Regions from separate parts of the Homo sapiens genome. Here region 1 is linked to region 2. The links are contacts of gene promoters, found by promoter capture Hi-C in blood cells and fetal thymus (Javierre and others, 2016). All regions are on one chromosome and are shown on one strand. The core of a region is centred on a gene start or on the middle of the fragment in contact, and the rest is flanking DNA. Distances in the headings are between cores, read along the strand shown. Region 1 has its middle 12 kb from the start of TLNRD1. Region 2 holds the start of C15orf40 (chromosome 15 open reading frame 40).

Region 1 (4,385 bases), core at 584-3,083, 2.0 Mb before region 2:
TTCTCGTGCCTCAGCCTGCCAAGTAGCTGGGACTAATTTTTGTATTTTCAGTAGAGATGGGGTTTCACCATGTTGGGCAAGCTGGTCTCGAACTCCTGACCTCACGTAATCCGCCCACCTTGGCTTCCTAAAGTGCTAGGATTACAAGCATGAACCACAGTGCCCACTAAAGATGCATCCTTATAGGTGGCTCAAGTGTTCCAGTTCCCCTCATCCCTCTCTTTCTGGAGGGCAAGCAAAGCTTCTTGCCCACAGAAGTTTCTAGAAACACTGGCAATTCTTGACTTCACTGGGACGTTTTGCTTCATCCTGGGCAGCCACAAAACACCTTCTAGATTCACATTAATAATAAATGAATGCATTAGCCCATTGTCACATAGGGGCAAGTTGCTGGTAATGACACTTACTATGCCATTCATTAGTTGGGTCTAGAATAGTGTCAGATTTAGCAAGGCCAATGGTAAAAGTTTCTGATTTAGCAAACATTTACTAGGTGTCTGGGGCAGTATTAGGCATGTTCTCTGTATTAAAATATTACCTTACTTAAGGAGTTACTCAAAGTCACACAACTACTGTTAGAAACAATCCTAGAACTAGAAACAACCCTAGAAATCCAGTCCTTTGTCTTCCCCAATAAAATCAATTTGAGATGCCGTTTGTCAGGCTGAAGACATTTTCCAAGTGCATCATCCTTTTGTGTTACATTTATGTAACTGGAGAAAACAGAGGCCTAGGAAAGCGTAGCATTGAGTACTCATTGTTCGGGTGACTGGGGAGTAGTATGTAGGCATTGGCATGACGCACCAGAGCATCTTCTCTTTAGGTGTGATAAATGGTTTAGGTTTGACTGTATCATGGGTGTTGATTCTTTCCTGGGTATACGAGAATTATTCACTTTAAATGCTACAAGGAAAAAGTTTTAAATGTTGAAAAAAAACTAAGCCTATTTGATTTTTTTTTCGTTTTAAACATGTCCATGAAATCCTGTATGGTCTGAACTTCTATGGCTTCTTGTCAGATTTCAGAGCTGAGAGACTAGATGCTTCTACCATCTTACAAATAGCTTAAGAAGTGAATTTTGCATTATCTATTGGGAGTTCACTTAGAGTTTTTGGAAGAACTTCCTAATTGCCTAATCTAAATTGTTCCTTTTGCATTGTTTTTCCCTGTGTGTGTATGTGTGTGGCTGAGAGAAGAATGACTCACAAACTCCATACAGAGTATAGGACATTAGTTGGAGCCTCCTGGGGATATCAAGATACTGGGATCTTCACCATGGATTTTTCAACAGTGTTCAGTAGACCTTTCTTAAGCCTGACTGTACAGAGAGGATGCTGTACTTAACAATAAGTGTTGGGAATATGGATAAGAGCTTAGAATGCAGTGGAAGTGATAGCAAGATAAAACACATTACAAGGGACCAGGATAAGTGCCATAATTTATGTTCCTAAGGATCTTCTAATCTAGATCTTTGGCTGTTTGGGGCCTCATAGTCCCTAGATTTGATCATCTGGATATATTATCCTGCTGACCAGGGAGAAGGATGTTGACATCAGAACCCCACTTTCCTACTCTCAGTGCCAGGCGACCGCATATAATGTAGGTGGGAATTCCATCGAATGTATTTTCTGTGCAGCCAGAGGGCAGTTTTTAGTTAGAGGTTTCAGGTGCCTTAAAAAGTAGGCTTTATTCCAAGGCTCAGGGATCATTTTCTGTTCTGCTCTTTGATTTTTTTTTTCCCAAGACAGAGTCTTGCTCTGTCGCCCAGGCTGGAGTGCAGTGGTGCCATCTCGACTCACTGCAGCCTCCACCTCCCAGGTTCAAGCACTTCTGCCTCAGCTTCCCAAGTAGCTGGGATTACAGGAGAGTGCCACCACGCTCATCTAGTTTTTGTATTTTTAGTAGAGGTGGGGTTTCACCATGTTGGCCAGAGGCTGATCTCGAACTGGCTGGTCTCAAACTCCTGACCTTGTGATCTGCCCTCCTTGGCCTCCCAAAGTGCTGGGATTTCAGGCATGAACCACTGCGCCTGGCTGCTCTTTAATTCTGAGGTGGTGTTGATGCAGAGTGTGAGGCTATTGCTGGATGGGATCTGCACTGTAGGAAGCAGAACAGCTTTCCCCTACTTCACTGAAGCAGCTAGCCTGGCCTTGGATCAGCAGCCATGGGTGGGGCCAGTGGGCCCAGCTCACTTGCAGAAGAGTCCTGAGCCTGGCTGCCCGCCATTGTTGTGGATCACCAAGAACTGAACTGGGCTCCTGAAGATGCACCTGGCCTGGAGAGTGCACCTGTCTGGCTGATAGACTGGGAGCTTTTCAAGGCAATCTGTTGTGTCTTTTTCATCTGTCATCCCTAGAAGGTGACCAGGATGCTAAATTGTTTGTTTAATGAAAGAAAATCAATAGCTGGCATTTTTTTGAGCTCCTGATGTATACGCTAGAAACTTTACATTGTGTTTCTCAGTCCTTAAAGCAACCCCTTTGAGGTATGAAGAGTCGTTCTCATTTTACAGATGAGGATGCTGAATTGAAACCACTTGCCTAGGGTCAAAGAAACTAGTAAGTAGGGGGATAAAGGTAAGAATCAAGGTCTTGTGACAGAGACAGCATTCTTAGCCACTTGGCTATAGTGAATGAATGATTTTTAGGATAGTGTCCCTCTGCCCATTGAGGCGAAATGCTCTTCAACTCTGTTAAATTTTTAATCTTTCCAATGACAGTTCCTATGGGTTTCTTCCTAAGCCTCACTTAAGCCTTTGGTCTGAGCTCCTCTTGGACCATTTGTGGAGGGCCCTGGATGCCCACAGGCCCCTTGTAAAGACTCGGGCAGAGTTGATTCCATGGACAGATGGCTTTCCACCTGCTTCATGATCCTGGTATCCTAAGGGATGCTTGAAGAAGATAAACCTCTGGTTTGTCAAGGAACTTCCACTTGGATTTCTAAATTGCAGCTGCCTTTGCTCTTCACCTACTTGGAACACTTCCATGGTTCTCCCGTGGACTTTAGGATAAAAGGCAAACTCCTCACTGAGGCATTTCTAGCAGGTCTGGTCTCTCACAGTCTACCCATAATTATACTTTTTAGAGGTCCTTCCAGTGTCATGCTGTCTTCTTGCCTCCAAGCTGTTGCACAAGCTGTCCCTTGGAACACTCACCCCACATCCTGCTTCTCCTTAACCCGCTTCCGCAGTCCTCAGCCTGGGTGGCACCCTCTCCTGCAGGTCCCTGTAGTACCCTGCACTTTCCCTATGTTAGTATTTATCAAGTTACTGTAATTCTCTGTTTACCTATCCATGTTCCTAGTATGGATCATCATCAGGTGGTGGCATCATCTTTTTATCTCCAGTGATTAACGCAGTTACCTAACACATATGAGGCTCTCAATAAACATCTCTGCTGAACAAATGTAGTGTTTATAAGTCATATCAAGCTTTTAGAGATGAAAAGCCCCAAGAGTAAAATAGTTCATTAACCTTTTCCTTTGGCTAGATTCCCTTCAGTCAGTTACCAAATTCTTTCAAATTCTCCTTTCTCATACCCTTGGCATCTGTTTCTTCTCCCCAGCTGCACAGCCAGCATCCTAGCCTAGGCCCCTTGTTGACCCTCACCTGAACAATGCTGCTTAATGAGTCCCTAGCTGCAGTCTGGATTACCTGCCCAAATTAGGCATGCTTTCATCACCTCCTCCCATCAGCCATGTCTTTTGTGTAGTAAATCTAGGCCCTAAACTGCAACTTCACATAGTCTACTTATTGAGTACCGACAGCATGCCACTGGACTGGTCCCACAGGGAATAGGACCAGGCCCTTATCAGGCCATGGCACTCATCTCCCACCACCCCCAGCCCAACCTCTGTTCCAGCATGATGGGCAGAACTCAGGCCTTTTTCCGTGCTGTTCTTATTCCTATATCTGCTTTTGCTTTTGTTGGTCTCTTTATGTGAAATATCTTTCCCGTCCTTCTGAACACGTGGTAACCCTTTGAGCCTAGATGACTCCAAAGACTAGGACTCTCCATCTGTGCTGCAGAACGGGGCGGCCTTGGCATGTCTGGTCTTTTGTGGACTTCCCAGGGATCTGGGTGGCTTCCAAGGCCCTGGATGGCCCAAATTCTCTTCCCTTAACTGGTCTAGGTACCCCAGGGCCTCACCTAAGTTTGAGCTCTGAGCTGGAGGACTGGATGCCAACCTGGTGATGATTCTTGCCTCTCTCCTCAGGGCGGTATTAGGTCCAGCAGGGGTCACGAAACAAAATGCCACCTCAAGAAGGGAGTCTTTTCCCACAAACGAACTTAGAACCATATTCCCTGGGGAGCCCTTGAAATCAGCGTGAGAACTGACTGAGGGAGTGAGTCCTGGCTTTGAGTCCCATAATTGTTATAATACAG
Region 2 (4,408 bases), core at 700-3,199:
GATTCCTGAGGCACCTCCAGCACTCCAGAGAATAGCCTGAAAGCCTCTAACTTAGTCCAACGATCTCATCTGACAGATGAAAAAACTGGACCCATGAATGTTTTATACTGTTTTGATTTAAAACAAATTCGCACAGGAACTGATCACGGGTCTCAGATCTCAAGTTTTCTCCCTCTCCTTAGGCCAGTGATCATTAAACTACACTAAAATGTCTCTTCTTTCTCTGGCCAATGTCTCCAGTTTTGGAACAGGACAAACTAAGAATAATCCAGACTACACACAAGTTTCCATAACTGTCCTTTCTAAAATACTGTATTTTTAAAGAGGAAAATATACAATGGTTTTCGTGTAACTTGGCATGATTTAAAGATATATTCACTTTAAGACACCTTTACATTAGAATCTAGAATTTTAAAATGGAGAAGCCTCTAACTGCAGATGTGAAAAATCAACTGTCATAGAATAAGCTTTCAGCTAACCAAAGCAAAGGAGGGCTGTAGGAGACACCTGATTCACACTTGAATCCCACCCCAGTGTCCAGGTATACCTGTTACAGCATTTTGTTTGGAGCCAGGTTTTGCATGGATGGCTATGGTGACGCATCCTTTAGGATCAACTGCCACAGGACCTAAGGGAGGAAGTGGTCTCTCTGGTTCCTTGCTCTGGCTTTTACCCTAAAATGACAACCACACAACTTTACAGGTTACAAAATATTTTCCCACACATTTAATTTGATTCTTCCACTACCCCCTTTCACCCTTAACAGACAAACTAGGCTCATCAGTGGTGTCCAGGGACTTCTGGCCACCTAGAAAGCTTTTCCCACAACCTTCAAGGCTCTACTCAATTTTCCCACGAAGGGTTCCCATCAACCCAACAGTGTTTTTTCCCCCCTTGCAAGAAAACCTAACTCTGGCTTCTAAACCTTAATGCTTGCTCCTCCCTCTGCTTTGTATTTCCAATTCCTTGGGGGCAGGGATCATTTATTATTCATCATTGTATCTCATGCAGTCGGAGCTAATAAATGTTGGTGAAAGTGTGTATGTCTGCATGTTGCGGGAAAGGGAGGAAAAAAAAATAGTGCTTGATATTTAAAGGCCTGTTATGGGACAGGGGCTGTGCTAGGAACTTTCGTTCAACAAATATGTAGGCAATGGATATGTAAAGATGAAAAGGTACATGGTCCTTGCTCTCAAGGAGCTCGGACTGCTGCGAGGGAGAAAGAACATACAAAATTATAATACACTGTGCTAAGTGCACCGATGAGATAGGCACAGAACATTACCCCACAGGCAAATCAGCATTGGGGCACTGGAGAATGCTGCCAGCAGGAGGCAGTGCTTGAGCTGAGTCTGAGAAACGGACTGGGGTTGGCCAAACAAAGATGGTGGAAATGGGAGTGCTGTATTCTTGACAGAAGGGGTGCGATCAGCCAAAGCAAGGGAGGAGAAAGCAGAATACAGCCTCCTGGGGAAACGCAGGTCATGCCGCTGCGGGAACATGAATTGCTGGACTGGGAGTGCGGGTAGGAGGCCAAAGGTCAGCACACGCAGCCCAAGGAGAGCTCGGCTGCCGCCGGGCCCAGCGCTCAGAAATCACCAGGTGGACGGCAGCGCAGCCTACTGAGGCGGGGCGACGGCAGCAGGCCGCAGCTCTGGGGGTGGCGGCGGCTGTCCTGAGCCCCGGAACTGAGAGACGGCAAGCCGCTGGCAGTGCCTCCACTCACTCCCGGGCCCCGCTTCTCCCGCGCTCTTCAACAAGTACCCCTGAGGCCCACCCCTCTGCCGCCACGGGACCTGCTACTGGCCTTGGTCGTCGCACCAGCCTTCTTAGGCATCTCGGCGCAAAGAAGCCGAGCGGAGCCCCGAGTATTGGGTGTTGCCCGAAGGTGCCTCAGCCCGCTGCGGAGCCGCAGCATCCCCGCCTGGGAAGGCGCCGGAAGAGCCCTCTGCGCTTGCGCAGGTAGCCGGCAGGAGCGGCCCCACCGCCCGGCGCATCCGCTCTGGCCAGAGGGCGACACCTTAAGGCCGGCGGGAGCGAGTCTCGTGGCCGCAGAACATGCGCGAGTCTCTTTTGTTCTGGAACGGGCCGAGCCCCAGGAAGTGGAGCTGCGGAGCTGAGGCCTCACCGTGTCTTGGCCCACCCTGCTCAGCTGATAGGAAGGTGTGTCACCTCTTTCCTAATCGGGGAAAGAAAGGTATTGTCACTTCTCAGAATTGGAGAGCGCGGCAAGGAGTGCACAGGGCCAGGTGTCTTCTCGCTCCCACAGCCAAGCAGCAGATGCAGAGTCCCACGCGCTGCCTGTGGCCATCAAGTCGATATAGAGCCTCGTGGCGGCTTGGCCCTTGTGAATCTTCCACGTATCGATGGCGCACCTACCTTGTGCCAGGCGCAGCGGATCCCACAATGTAAAAGAAGAGGAAATACACTGCGACATGTGATATGGAGAGACATGAAACAAATCAGCAGAGGCAAGATCATGGAGTCACTGAAGGCTTTCAAGCAAGGGATTATTAGCAGCCCAATTTGCTGGGTTTTAGAAAGACACCGGCTGCACTGTGGCCGACAGAGGAAAAGCCAGAGACAGGGAGATCCGCCCCCTAAATGGGAGAGGGTGGCCTGAACTAGAGTAACCGCAGGGAGGGTGGAGCGCTGATCATTTCAAGGATCTTCAGGAACTGAAATGATCAGAACTTGGGAATGACTGCATGTGCGAATAAGGGGGAAAAGTCAAGGAAATGCCCAGGTTTGGGGCCCAAGGAACAGGTTTGGGAGGCCGAGGTGAGGAGTTCAGCTTTGGACATAATGAGTTTGAGATGCCCACAGGACATCCAAATACAAATGTTAAAGGGGTAACTGAATATATGTGACTGGAGTTTGCGAAATCAAGGCTGGTGATAGAGATTCTGGAATCTTCTGAAAGCAGATGGCAATTGAAGCTATGGAAATGGATGAGAGAGTGTGTAAAGAGCACGAGGGCCCAGGTTAGAACAGCAAGGGCAGGTAGAGAAGTCACCAAAGGACACTGACCAGGTAGGAGTACGGTGTAACGGCAGCTAAAGAAGGGCGCTTCAAGAGGGAACATCAACAGTGATGAACACTCTGGAGAGAACATGTCACATGTAACGACTGAGAAGTGGCCACAAGATTTAGAAATCAGGGTGGTGGTGGTGACCCGGGCTACAGCAGTTTTAGTGGAGAGAAGGAAATGGAGATAATTGTAGAGAATAATCCAGTGACTTCACTGTGAAGGAGCAATTGGTATCTGGAGGGGCACATGACATTCAGAGACTTATTTTTATCATATTTGAAGATTGGTAGGAAAGAGCCAGGAGAAGAGAGGTTACAGCAGAGGACGGTTCCTGAAGAGGTAGGATCTGAGCTCAAGTAGAGATTGAGTTCTCTACAGGAGGCCTTAGACACTCCTTCCTTCCTAAGGGAAAGCTTAGGTGGACATGTAGCTGTGTTTGTAGGTTTGGTGATGGGAGGTGGAATTTCTTTCATTAACTAAGGCGGGGGAGGTGTTGAAGGTATATTGGGACTCTTGAGAATGGCAAAGGGCTGACTATTGCAACTCACCCAGCGGTAGACAGTTAAGGGAGACCGTGAAATCATCTATGATCCCAATCTATAGTTACCTTATTTTATTTTTGTTTATTTTTGAGACAGGGGGATGGGAAGAGCCTGTCGCCCAGGCTGGAGTGCAGTGGCGGGATCTCGGCTCACTGCAACCTCCGCCTCCTAGGTTCAAGCAATTCTCCCTGCCTCAGCCTCCAGAGTAGCTGGGACTACAGGCGCGCGCCACCACACCCATTTTTTGTATTTTTAGTAGAGACGGGCGTTTCGCCATTTCGCCCAGGCTGGTCTCGAACTCCTGAGCTCAGGCAATCCACCCACTTCGGCCTCCCAAAGTGCTAGGATTACAGGCGTGAGCTAGCGCCTGGCCTATAGTTACGTTACTTTAGATGCCTGGATTCACCAGCTAAGAAGTTTTTTTTTTAATTAAATTTTTTTTTGGCCCCAGTGCTACTACCAAAGCAGTCAGGAAGTTGAAGATAAGGCAGACAACTGGATTGATTCAGGTATATTTAAGTGGGTTGAGGGTTATTGATGAAATGGTTAAAGTTATTAAAGACCAAAGGTGGAGAGGGGTTGAGGGAGACCAAAAGTAGAGTCTAACTGGGTAAAGAAGGAAGTAAAGAAGAAAAGAACAGAGAGGACAAGGGGCTGCAGTCTTAGGTTCAATAACGGGTGTAACTGGAATGTGAGTGAGAGCTGGAAGAAACACCAAAGGTTGTGGCCAGAGAGTGGGATGTCTGAATTTCCTATTTCAGATGTAGAGCAATTCCACATCATGATAGGGTATATGGTGTGGCCATGATAAGGAATGGTGAAGGTTGCTGGAGGT

Evidence for each region. The method cuts DNA at HindIII sites, captures the fragments that hold promoters and counts their contacts. A CHiCAGO score of 5 or more calls a contact.
Region 1: a contact is called between a fragment that was not itself captured here and the fragment with the promoter of C15orf40 in region 2, in 1 of 17 cell types (activated CD4 T cells). The highest score is 5.3, in activated CD4 T cells.

Annotation. Positions count from the first base shown.
Region 1 is chr15:81,010,598-81,014,982 of GRCh38, forward strand. No RefSeq gene overlaps it. Among named protein-coding and RNA genes, the nearest start is that of TLNRD1, 12 kb to the left of the region's middle. The HindIII fragment of the contact is 3,188 bases long and covers 240-3,427 here.
Region 2 is chr15:83,009,690-83,014,097 of GRCh38, forward strand. C15orf40 (chromosome 15 open reading frame 40) reads right to left here and starts at 1,950. Exons shown (of 4, transcript NM_144597.3): 1 at 1,808-1,950; 2 at 548-674. The coding sequence starts at 1,918. It overlaps LOC124903542 (a long non-coding RNA gene), which reads left to right and starts at 2,052. Exons shown (of 2, transcript XR_007064742.1): 1 at 2,052-3,370. RefSeq lists an enhancer at 2,128-2,187. The HindIII fragment of the contact is 2,628 bases long and covers 815-3,442 here.